4 separate regions of the Homo sapiens genome follow, and all the other regions are linked to region 4. Evidence: promoter capture Hi-C in 16 types of primary human blood cells and fetal thymus (Javierre and others, 2016). All regions are on one chromosome and are shown on one strand. Each heading gives the region's core, a stretch centred on a gene start or on the middle of the fragment in contact. The rest is flanking DNA. Distances are from core to core; before and after follow the strand shown.

Region 1 (2,984 bases), core at 72-2,571, 1.0 Mb before region 4:
ATGATACGGTGAATGTTAACACCACCATGAAAGTGAAGGAAAATACTAGAGTAACAATAGTCAGAAGTCTCTTCTGATTTATAAAACTGTAAGAGAATAAATTTATGTTGCTTTAAGTCATCAAGTTTATGGTTACAGCAATCATAGGGAATGAATTATAAGAGTCTTACTATAATAAGCCAGTAAAGAAATTTTAAAATACAGTTCAAGGAAAAAGTTCTTATTTGACAAGGCAGTTTTAAGGAGAAAAGAAAGCTGAAGTGCAAAGTGAGGATGGAGTAGAAAGGTAAGAAAAGAGTAGCAAAGGAGAAGGGAGTAGCTAGGTGAGGCTGTGAAGTTTGATATCTGTCGAAGACTGGCCAGAATAATGAACTGGAAATGGTTTAAGCTTACTTCTGCTTTGGTTGCATAGCAAACAACTATGTAAATTATGTCCACCAGAAAAGTACACCAGTGAATGTGTGCAGTTACCTGATGACCCTCTTGTTCCTCAAGGAGCTGTCACCTAGGTTCTGTGATCAAATATTGCCTTTTAAGTAATTAGTCTGAGGGTGGGGACATGGTCTATCAGTGGTCCACGTACAACCAGTGAAGTTCTTCCTACCTGTGCCATAGTCGCATATGACTATGTTCTATTTTTTGTTGTGTTTTGGGTCTATAGCAGGCCTGGACATAACCTACCACATGAGCTTTCCAAATGCTGAAAGATAATATCTCATACAAATTCCATTTCACATTCTATTTTTTTCAGTAATTGAGTTTATATTATAGTGGTAGCATTTTCTTCTTTATTCCTCCAGTAAGAAGCGGAGGTTCTACTCAATTTTGAACTTGTCTGGTATATATATATTGCACAGACTCTTTTTTTTGTCTCAGCAAAAATGATGTAAGATAGAAAACCCTCTGTTGCTAGGTTGAGAGGGAGAGGAAGAGAGAGTGACGGATAAAACAAGAATGTTTTTTTTGTGGATGAATCCCAGGAAAATTTTAAGCCCCTTCTTCTGTTATGCATGGTACCAAAACAACATGGCCCTGTCATAGTGAGAGGTTAGACCTAGATGAGGAAGGTGTCCAAGCCTCAAGGTTGAAGGCCATTTAAGTGTGATACTGAGAAAGCAGCCTAACATTATCAGCCTAACATTATCAGGCTTCCTATGGGAATAAGATAATCTATGGTACCCTGTGGTTAGGACAAGGAGGACAGAGTGTGGGGCCCAAAGATGCAGAGAAAATATTTAAATAGTCATATTTCAGCAGATAACAGTGCAGGAGACATAGGGAATCATGTGAAATGAGGGATGTTTCCAAGGAGGTGATAAAGATCTAAAAAACAAGGACAGGAGTACATCAGATGCCCCTTGTACTGGTGCCAGGATGATAAGTAAGCGCCTCAAGAATGTAGATTATGCAGAAAAGGGAGAATCTAAATAAGCAGTCCCTGAGATGATACCTCCCAAAGACTAATCTGAAACAGCATGAGTTAATCTTACAGAAAAAACTGGGGCCTCAAAACTGGATGAGGTTAGTTCTAAAAATAAAGCAATTTACATTAAAACATTTTTTGGGACAAAAATTTTGACTCTCACAATCCCTTAACTTACATTCTTAAGTACTTCTTAATTATCTCAAAGAATGGTGATCATTGACTTCATACTTGTCAAGCCTAGTGACTCTTCTGTAGTCTTTATTCTACAATTTCTGTGCTGGTTTTAGAACCATCTTCCCTCAGATTCCTCCTCACCCATATCCTTCTCTGGGTTGTACTGTTGGGGTCTGTTTCCTGGTCTTCCATACGGCTTGCTTATAGGTGAGACAATGGGAGACCTGCTGAAAACTGTCAGGGGATTTTTCTGCCAACTTTAATATCTGAATCATACCTAGGTCTGCTTTGATTTTTTAAATTCTTTTGACTTTTAAGACACATTTTACTGCCTTTTCAAATGTCCATAAATTGTGATTGTTGCATTATATTACAATGGGTGGTTCACTCATCTTCTCTATCCCCAACCTCAAGCATAAGTAAGTTTCCTAATGATTACAGCACCTGGCTCATAGAGAATAGACATTAAAAGTTTATTGGCTAAATGAATAGCTATAGGTATGGGGTGAGGTAACAGAGAGAGCCTCCTCCTGAAGGATTGATCAGAATCAATGTTTGCCATAATTGCGATATCCTACTGAGAATCACTTTCTGTAAGTGTAATTCATGGAAATATGCCTTATCCTCAGGAATACTCATGTAGAGAAAAGGTGAGAAGCTTTGCTTTATAGAGAAGAGAGTTTTCCATACAGGCCTGCCTTTTGACTTATTGGAAAGGGAGAGGACTGGACTGAAAATGAACGTAGATCCAAAAATGGTACAAATATGGAGATAATGCTTTTCAAACTTTTCCTTCTAATTACTCATCAGGGCAGAGGAAGGTAAATATGCACATCTGGATCTGAGTTGGAGGTAATGATGATGTGGACCAAGAAACCAATCTGCCATAGGCTAAGAGTCTATCTTGAACATTAATTTAGATGTCAATTCTTAAGTTAATATTCAAGATAGACTCTCAGCCTATGACAGATTGCCTTCTTGCTCCATATGGACACACGGAGGGGAACAATAACATACTGGGGATTTTCAGAGGGTAGAGGGTGGGAGGAGGGAGAGGATCAGGACAAATAACTAATGGGTACTAGGCTTACTACCTGGCTGATGAAATAATCTGTACAACAAACCCCCATGACACAAGTTTACCTATGTAACTAACCTGCAGTTGTACCCCTGAACTTGAAATAAAAGTTAAAAAAATGTCAATTCTACTCCTACTTGTGTGTTTGAATATGAAAGTCTTCTCTTACTTTTTTTTTTTTTTTTTTTTTTTGAGACAAAGTCTCGCTCTGATGCCCAGGCTGGAGTAAAGTGGCACAATCTCGGCTCACTACAAACTCTGCCTCCTGGGTTCATGCCATTCTCCTGCCTCAGCCTCCCCAGTAGT
Region 2 (3,024 bases), core at 95-2,594, 1.1 Mb before region 4:
TATTCACCATCAGTAAAACTTTTGTTGGTGGAAATTTCTCTTGAAATTACAGAAAATGGAGAGGGCCCAGCACTGTGGAGCAGAACAAGGACAAGAGTGTACAAAAATTGAGTGAGAGACTCAGGAATGCAACAGGAAAGTTAGAAAGAGGGAGTAATGATGGTGAAAAGGGTTAGCACACTGGGGTCTTGTGAGGAGCACAATTTTGTTATCTGTATCTGGTTTTCTGCCTATTATGCTAAGCCTTGGTACTGTCAGATGCTGAATACACATGGGGTAGATGGTATAAGATGGCAGCCTCAGTTCCGTGTTTATTACTCATTCTTCTTCAGCATGGCAAGAATAAATGATGGAAATCAGTGTTCTCATCCTTGATTCCCCTCTATCAAGCTTCCCTGTGTTCAGTTTTCTATGAAGACACAAAGAACTCAGATTTTTTTTTGCGATAATGAAAAGAACCCACAGCCCCTTTTGTTATCCAAAGTTTTGAGAATGATATTTCAATGCATATTTCATCTTGACACTCTTCTGCCCTGTGGCTGCACTTCCTAGGAAGAGACTGTGGCTCTAGTAAGGATTAATCAGTGACCGACTTCACCCCGTAATTGGAAGTAGAGCAGAAGTCCGAGAATGACAATACAGCTTCAAAGCCCTTTGTTTGTGCAAAGTGTCTCATCATGATTTGAAAAATCTGCTTGTTTTCATATAAACCTCTGAGGTAGGTTATTGTCACTGCTATTCTAATGATGGGGCTGTGGAGCTTGGATAATTCATACAAGGTTATATCAGAAGTTATGAGCTTAGAATGAAAACTCAAAGTCCTTGTTTCACCAGATTATTGCCCTTCAAGTCACATAATTATGGTGACAAATGGGATAACCAGGGATAATGTGTTAAGAAGTGAGATAGGCATATAAGTTTGTTATTGTAAAAAGTTGGAAGACAAAAGGGGTCATTATTCATGCAAAAAACGTAGTCTGTGCCATGCTTTTAAGCCACTAAGGACAATTACAATAAAGTGATACATTTGCTTGTTTTTGTTGTTATTTGTGCTGTGTCTATTACCTGAATACTTTCTTTGCTTTTAGGTTTATCAAGTGATTCCATGTTGGTGCCTGTCAATGGTAGAAACCAGCAAAGTACAGCTTGATGTTCCCCTGAGCAGCATGATGCTTCTGTATTTCATACTCAGAAGGCAAATGATGAATAGATAGTTAATCAGGTAAAATAGGATCAAAATGCAGTAGAGGTTTTAACAATCTCATTCTGCCTTTCCTTTTTAGAATCTTATGAGATATAGTGCTCCATTGAGAGAGAAGGACATGGGGGGTGAGAGCAAGAGAGAGTAGTCTATTATCTTACTCGATTTCCTGATGCAGTGGTTAACAAAAGGGGGCCTTTTTATATTAGATATGTGAATCACAGATGAAGCCTAAGGTGGTGTCAGAAGGAAGGTTTGGGCTTTGTGAAACAGAGAAGGAAGTTATTTTACGTGGATCTGCGGCAGAAGATTTAAAAGGAGGATCCTCATTGTTCCTTTCCAATTGCCATTCTATCCAGGAGGGATGGAAGTGAACAAAGGCAAGCAGAGTAATGATAGCCTTATTACAACACAGACTGAAGAGACAGCTTCTGAAGGCAGACAGTAACACAGCTTATGGAGAGACATGGGCAGGACTAACCATAGTAGAGTAACAGTCCTTTGAATGCCACTTGTGGGAGAATTGGGAAATATTTCTCACATCTGTGTGTCAAGAGTAAGAACAATTGTAAGAATGATTGCATAGGCAATATGAAAAAAGGCTGAGGAATCCTGTGTCAAGTCAAGAAGGTGTAAGGAAAATTTTCTAGCTGGCTCCCCTCTCCTTCAGGAGAAAATAATCTATGAGACTATTTAAGTAGAGGAGCTCACTTTTTCTGATTTTTTTTTCTGCACATCTGGATAATTAGTCACTATATTTTTGGGGAGGGAGAGAAAACCAACTGGGCTAGGACTCCTCCTTTGTTTCCCATGGTACCTTGTATCACCCACATGATTGTGCTTATAACATTGTAATGGTCTATGTTCTCATCTATACCCCCACAGGTACAGGCTCTATGAGGCAGGGATCTTGTCTGGCTTGTCAGTGTAGCATCTCCAGCGCCTGGTGCAGTGTGCTTCATACTTAGTACACTAAATGGGGTTACTTGTCCAAAGGAATGAATAGTGGATCAAGGAAAGGGAGTGTATAGATAGGAGGAAAAGTCAGATAAAGTCAATTTCTGGTTCCTAAATCTAATCTTCTTTGTACTTTTTAAAGAAGCTTGTAGTATATAATTTAGCATGTGAGCTCTGGGCCCAGAATGCTTTGGTTCCAAATCCAGTTCTGCCATCTCCAGGCTGTGTCATCACAGGAGTTCCTTAACTTTATCTGTGAGTGGGGACAATGATGCCCACTTATATTAGGGACTGAGTTTGGCTGTATGTATAGAAAACCCAAATAAGAGTAGTTCAAATAGGATAAGCATTTATCTTTTAATTCCTAATGAGAAGTCAGTTGGAAGAGAGGTAGTCCAGGGCTATGACGCCATGACCCAGGCTCTCTTCACCCCTTTGTTCAGCCATCCCCGGAGGCTTTCTTTCCTTATGGTCACCTGGTGGCTGCTGGGGCTCCAGCTATCACATTCACTCTGCAGGCAGGAAGAAAGAGAAGAGCAAAAGCAAACTCCACTTCCTAGTAGAATTTGCTTCCTTTCAAGGAGATTTCTCAGGAATCTCCACCAAAAACTCCCATTGATCTCTCATCGTCCAAAACTGTATCACATGAATCCCCCATCTGAATAAGAGTCTGGGAAATGCATTTTCTTTCTTTTAGCTGGACATATTGCTAACCCCACGATTAAAAAAAAGATTATGTTGGTAAGGAAGAAGTGAAAGATGAAAATTGGTTAGGCAACTAACAATATTGGAGAAGGTGAAGACACACAGTGGTTACTCAGCAAATGTGACTGTCTCACATTTAAATTAGACTTGTGATTTTCATT
Region 3 (3,121 bases), core at 187-2,686, 1.0 Mb before region 4:
TGTGAGACAGATGATTTAGGGTATCTGGCAGAAGAAATTTCTAAGCAGCAAAGTATTCAAGAGGTGACTTTGGGCCCTATTAAAAGCATTCAGTTTTAAAAGGGAAACAGAGCATAAAAGTTTGGAAAATTTGCAGCCTGACAATGTGATAGAAAAGAAAATCTCATTTTCTGAGGAGAAATTCAAGCCAGGTGCAGAAATTTGCATAAGTAACAAGCTGAATGTTATTCCCCAAGACATTTGGGAAAATGTCTCCAGGGTATGTCAGAGGTTTTCAGGGCAGCCCCTCCCATCACAGGCCTGGAGCTTTAGAAGGAAAAAATTGTTTTGTGTGTTGGGCCCAGGGTCCCTATGCTGTGTGCACCCTAAGGACTTGGTGCCCTTTGTCCCAGATGCTCCAACTGTGACTAAAAAAGGCCAAGGTACAGCTCAGGCTGTTGCTTCAGAGGGTGGAAGCCCCAAGTCTTGGCAGCTTCCATGTGGTGTTGAGCCTGTGCGTTCACAGAAGTCAAGAATTGAGGTTTGGGAATCTCTGCCTAGATTTCAGAGGCTCTATGGAAACTCCTGGATGTCCAGGCAGAAGTTTGCTGCAGAAGTGAGGCTCTCATGGAGAACCTCTGCTAGGGCAGCGCAGAAGGGAAATGTAGGATGGGAGCCCCCCCACACAGAGTTCCTACTGGGGTACCACCTAGAGGAGCTGTAAGAAGCGGGCCACTGTCCTCCAGACCCCAGAATGGTAGGTCCACATACAGCTTGCACTGTGCACCTGGGAAAACCACAGACACTCAAAACCAGCCTGTGAAAGCAGCTGGGAGGGAGGGGGAGGCTATCCCCTGCAAAGCCTCAGGGGTGGAACTGCTCAAGACCATGGGAACTCACCACTTGTATTAGCATGACGTGGATGTGAGACATGGATTCAAAGGAAATCATTTAGAGCTTTAAGATTTGACTGCCCTGCTGGACTTCAGACTTGCATGGGGCCTGTGGCCCCTTCATTTTGGCCAATTTCCCCCATTTGGAATGGCTGTATTTACCCAATGCCTGTATCCCCATTGTATCTAGGAAGTAACTAACTTGCCTTTGATTTTACAGGCTCATAAGTGGAAGGGACTTGCCTTGTCTCAGGAGACTTTGGATTTTTGAGTTAATGCTGAAACGAGTTAAGACTTTGGGAGACTTTTGGGAAGGTATGATTGGTTTGGAAATATGAGGACATGAGATTTGGGAGGGGCTGGGGGTGGCATGATATGGTTTGCCTGTGTCCCCACCCAAATCTCATCTTGAATTGTAACTCCTATAATTTCCATATGTTGTGGGAGAAACCCAGTGGGAGGTAATTGAATTATGGGGGCGGGTCTTTCCTGTGCTGTTCTTGTGATAGTGAATAAGTCTCATGAGCTCTGATGGTATTAAAAACAAGAGTTTCTCTGCACAAGCTCTCTCATTCTCTCTCTTGCTGCCTCCATGTAAGAAGTACCTTTTGCCTTCCACCATGATTGTGAGGCCTTTCTAGCTGTGTGGAACTGTGGGTCCATTAAACGTCTTTCTTTTGTAAATTGCCCAGTCTTGGGTATGTCTTTATCAGCAGCAGGAAAATGGACTAATACAACCCTATACCAGAGTAGCTGGACATTGCTGGATGACAGTTAGACTACCATGCTGACTGGCCTTGCTTCAGATTTATGACCCCTGATCTCAAAATCACTGAGCACTTTCAGAAACTCCTATTTCAGTTTTCTAGTAAATTCACTGTCATCCTCTCTAGATGACTATTTCACACCTTCTCTTCTCCAATCTCAAACACTGATTATTCTGTTTTACTCTCAGTTGATGACTTGGTTTTCTACTTCAGAGAGAAAATGGATATAATCAACAAAAACATGCTACTTTCCTACCACCCGCCTATATCTTCAGTCACATATGCTCTTTTCTCCTGTATTTCTCTTTTTCTCAAATTTCTCCATTTCTCAAACCGTTCTTATGTTTGCCAGCTCTCTATTTTTGTTAACACATCTCTAACTGCTGGAGTGCCCAGAGTTTATTTTTCAACCCTCTAATCATCTATAGTTACATTTTCTTAAGATACCCTGCTTAGTCCCAAGGCTTTAAATGCCATCTATATGCTGATGGCTCCCAAATTTTTATTTATAATTTTGAACTTTGTCCTGAAAATCAGAATTGTATGTCTGATATCTTACACAGTATTTTTACTTGAGTGTCTCTAACCAAACATGGCTTCTCTTAATTTTCTGAAAAAAATCATCTCTCAATCTTTCCATTTATCAATACATGGTATTATCATCCACTCAGTTGCTGTTCAGGCTGAAAACATGGGAGTTATTCTTGAATCCTCTTTCTTTCACTGCTCACATTGAATCTACCAGACAGTCCAGTTGCCTGTGTTTCTAAATTATATTTTATATCTGACTATATCTCATCATTTCCAGTGCTGTAAACTAGACCAAATTGTCACTATATTTTACTCAGAGCACTTAGAAGTTCCTAAAATTATTGTAATTATTTTGCTTATGTTACTGTCTGCTTCCATACATTAGAATGTCAACTCACTGAAGGTAGGGACATTATCTTGTTCCCTCTTGTGTACCTAGCACCAATACTAGCACATACTAAGGGATCAATAAATATTTTTGCCTGACTGATATTTTAGTGGAACCTGTCTTTCAGAATAAGCATTGAACTATAGAAAACATCTAAAAATTTATATTTTTGAAATTCCAGCAATTAAATTATCTCAGTGGTTCAATTTTAGAAAGTTAATCAATCATGCTGGTACCTAGCTCTCAGCTATAAACTATTCATATAACATGACTCTAATGAGTCATTTAAAATATTTATATTTGTGTGCATATATATGTATACATTCATATATACACACATATATGTGTATGTGTGCATGTGTATATACATACACAAGCATACTAGTTTACAAAAATGTGGTCATATTATGCATGTGGTTTTGGGGATTTTTCTCCCTTCTTATTTCGTTTCCCTTCTATTTGTCCCTCACTCTTCACTACATAGTTCTCCTAATCCAAAGTAACAATTTGCTGTGTTTTCTTCTGCATGCTATTATAATTATAAAAACATATGCTACATATAT
Region 4 (3,040 bases), core at 535-3,034:
AGTACAGCCCACTTCTCCAGGCCTTCCTGTAACTGCAGGCACCCATTTACAGCATTTAATCTCTGCTGCTTAAAATGCTTCTGTCTTCTGCCATGAACCTTGGCTGACACTACAATCTTTCCCATTTTCTGTAATTCCTCAGTGATTACTGGCAGAAGTTTAGCAAATACATCTGCAAATTGGCATCATTGATGCGGTACAGTCACAGATTCATGTCTGAAAGTTTTCTATTACTCTTGAGTCATCTATTTTTCCAAGAATCTTGGCCTGTGGAATCTTACTTTTTTTCTTTCAGTATTTTTTTCTTTCTGCTATCTTTATGCAGGTAAAAATGGAGATAGGTCTTTATGAAGATTTTTCCAACAATTCTCCAGCCACACTGCTGAAGATTTTCCAGCAACTTCTTGGCATACAGTACTAACACACCTCCACTTCTACCAGGTTTATTCCTAAAAGAGTGATAGAGCTTTCTGCTGTTATGCTCCTGTCATTTAATTCAGCTTGATGATGCTATAAAGCTATGTTTACCTCCTTGTATGTATTTATATAAATACACATACACACACACACACACACACACACACACACACACACATCTCTGAAGGCAAATCTTGTTCTCAATATATTTATCAGGTATTTTTTTCTTCTGACAATTGCAGATAACCTCTTACACAAATGTTCTTCTTCCTAAGTCATAATCATTTATTTGACAATTTTTCTTGTTCCTCTTTCCCTTTACATTTAAAATGTTTGTAATCATATTAAATATTTGTGGGGGAAATCCCTAAGCATTACTGGAGCATCTTAAACATCTTAAATCATAGCCTGGCAAACCAAATTCTTTAATAAGAATCATGTTTTTGAACCTGCCAAATTCACTTCTGCCTTAGGATTCTGCAATTGTTCCCCCTAACAGGAATGCTCTTCTTGCATCCTCACTTGGCTAACCCCATTTGTGATTCAGATTTCAGCCCAAATATTATCTCCTCAGAGAGGCTTTTTTTAGTTTTTCTATCAAAAGTCAACAGTTGATTTTTTTGGTTAATTATTTTGTCATTGAATGGTTTGGCTGTACAAGTTTGGTTATATTTGTTGAGAATACTTTCAATTACAAGTAACAGAATTCTGAATAATAATAACTTAAGTAATAAAGATATTCATTATATCATATAACAAAGTATAAAAGTAGGCTTATCAAAGTTTCAGAGATGCACAGTGATTTTTGAGGGCCCTACGCACTTTTGCCTTCGATTTTCTGCAAATTTGTTCTCAGCATGTTGGGAATAAAAAGCCAATAGGGCCGGGCGATGTGGCTCACGCCTGTAATCCCAGCACTTTGGGAGGCCGAGGCGGATCACGAGGTCAGGAGTTTGAGATCAGCCTGGCCAACATGGTGAAACACCGTCTCTACTAAAAATACAAAAATTAGCCAGGCGTGGTAGCACGCACCTGTAATCCCAGCTACTCAGAGGCTGAGGCAGGAGAATTGCTGGAATCCGGCAGGCAGAGGTTGCAGTGAGCCACTGCATTCCAGCCTGGGTGACAGAGCAAGACTCCATCACAAAAAAAAAAAAAAAAAAAAAGCCAATAATAGGAGAACTCTATTAATGTATCCAAGGGCAATGGTGTAGGTGCTGTGATGCAAGAAGATTCCCTGTCAGGAATAAAGGGCTTATTATGTCAGATGCTAGGTGTGCTGCCAGCAGACAGCCTCTCAGCTCTTAGCCCCCTTTGAGGATGACCTCAGCTGACAAAAGCTGCCTAACCTAGCCTACACACTCTTCATAGGTAGCCTTCATTCAATGACTGATGAACATGTGGTTATAAAAGCCTGGCCACTTCACCCCAATTCAGGACAGCTGGTAAGGCTCATTACCTCTTCAGAACTCCCAATAGGGTCAGCAGAGGCTTCTATTGAGATTGTATTGCAGCTGAACTTGTCTCTATTTTCTTTTTCCACAGGTGTTGGCCCCCAAAATACTTCCTAATAAATCTCCTGCATGAAATCACCATCTCAAAGTGTACCTTCTGGAGAATACAGTGTTTGGAAAGCAGTAAGTCATGGCTAAATACAGCAATATGCTCTGGAGTTCACTTGGATACTTCCCTAGGCAAAAGGCAAGTCCAATTATGGATAAACATGGCTAGACTACGAGCTCAACATCAAGAAAAGCCATTTCACCTATGTAACCAACTAACCTAGATGACCAAGCCTAATTATAGAGTTTTCATTCAAAACCACTTTGTGCTTGGTAGACACTAAATTGAAGCAAGGCAGCAAGTGGGTCTCACAGCCAGTCCCTCAAAGACGTATCAAAAGCAGGAACTTCTTAAAACACTAGAAACTGAACTAGTACTTTACAACCCATCAGCAAACTAAAGACGGGGAAGACCACACAAAGATTATTCACCTTAATCAAAAACATGGGACCAGCTCAGCAGCTCATCACCACAGAAAATAGATGAATGGAAAGAAAATGGCTGCTCTAGACACGAGGCAATTTCTGGAAATCAGGATGGTGACATTGGAGAAGAAACTGAAGATTCTTGGAGAAATATTAACTTCATCTCAGTAAAATGGTAGGTGATGGAATGCACACAGACTGTCTCAGTTTCTCTTCTTTGATCTTTGTGACAAATTGTCTCATGCCCATTCTGCTCCTTTACTGACCATTCAATGGACCATTCATATATTTATCTAGTCGATGTTTTAGTCTACAAAATTCACAAAGCTGCCAGGCTGCCAATTGATAGGGTAAGCTGAAAACTTGGGAAATTAGACTGGCCAGCCCTGCTATAAGGCATATAGGGTGTAGTTAGACAGCCTTGCTACACTGATTTTGCCATTTACTGTGTGGTATAAACCAATAATTATTTGGTTTTTAGTGTTTAGTAAATATTTTCTAACTTTGCAATAAAACCCTTCCGACAGAAATAAATAAAATTAAAACTACATATTTAATTAAAGTACTATATACTAAATTTCTATTTCTTATATATTCTTGGTCACAACCAAATGAAAACCAGAAACAGTTCTCCT

Evidence for each region. The method cuts DNA at HindIII sites, captures the fragments that hold promoters and counts their contacts. A CHiCAGO score of 5 or more calls a contact.
Region 1: a contact is called between a fragment that was not itself captured here and the fragment with the promoter of MAPK10-AS1 in region 4, in 5 of 17 cell types (M0 macrophages, naive B cells, monocytes and 2 more). The highest score is 8.1, in M0 macrophages.
Region 2: a fragment that was not itself captured here is called in contact with the fragment with the promoter of MAPK10-AS1 in region 4 in 4 of 17 cell types (total B cells, naive B cells, M1 macrophages and 1 more); the score reaches 11.7 in total B cells.
Region 3: a fragment that was not itself captured here is called in contact with the fragment with the promoter of MAPK10-AS1 in region 4 in 4 of 17 cell types (M0 macrophages, M1 macrophages, M2 macrophages and 1 more); the score reaches 6.7 in M0 macrophages.

What each region holds. Positions count from the first base shown.
Region 1 is chr4:85,101,414-85,104,397 of GRCh38, forward strand. No RefSeq gene overlaps it. Among named protein-coding and RNA genes, the nearest start is that of WDFY3, 140 kb to the left of the region's middle. The HindIII fragment of the contact is 1,870 bases long and covers 387-2,256 here.
Region 2 is chr4:85,059,051-85,062,074 of GRCh38, forward strand. No RefSeq gene overlaps it. Among named protein-coding and RNA genes, the nearest start is that of WDFY3, 94 kb to the left of the region's middle. The HindIII fragment of the contact is 1,913 bases long and covers 389-2,301 here.
Region 3 is chr4:85,117,531-85,120,651 of GRCh38, forward strand. No RefSeq gene overlaps it. Among named protein-coding and RNA genes, the nearest start is that of WDFY3, 150 kb to the left of the region's middle. The HindIII fragment of the contact is 6,129 bases long and covers 1-3,121 here.
Region 4 is chr4:86,118,022-86,121,061 of GRCh38, forward strand. MAPK10-AS1 (MAPK10 antisense RNA 1) reads left to right here and starts at 1,785. Exons shown (of 4, transcript NR_110879.1): 1 at 1,785-1,862; 2 at 1,963-2,580. The region is part of intron 4 of MAPK10 (mitogen-activated protein kinase 10); the gene reads right to left. The HindIII fragment of the contact is 8,901 bases long and covers 1-3,040 here.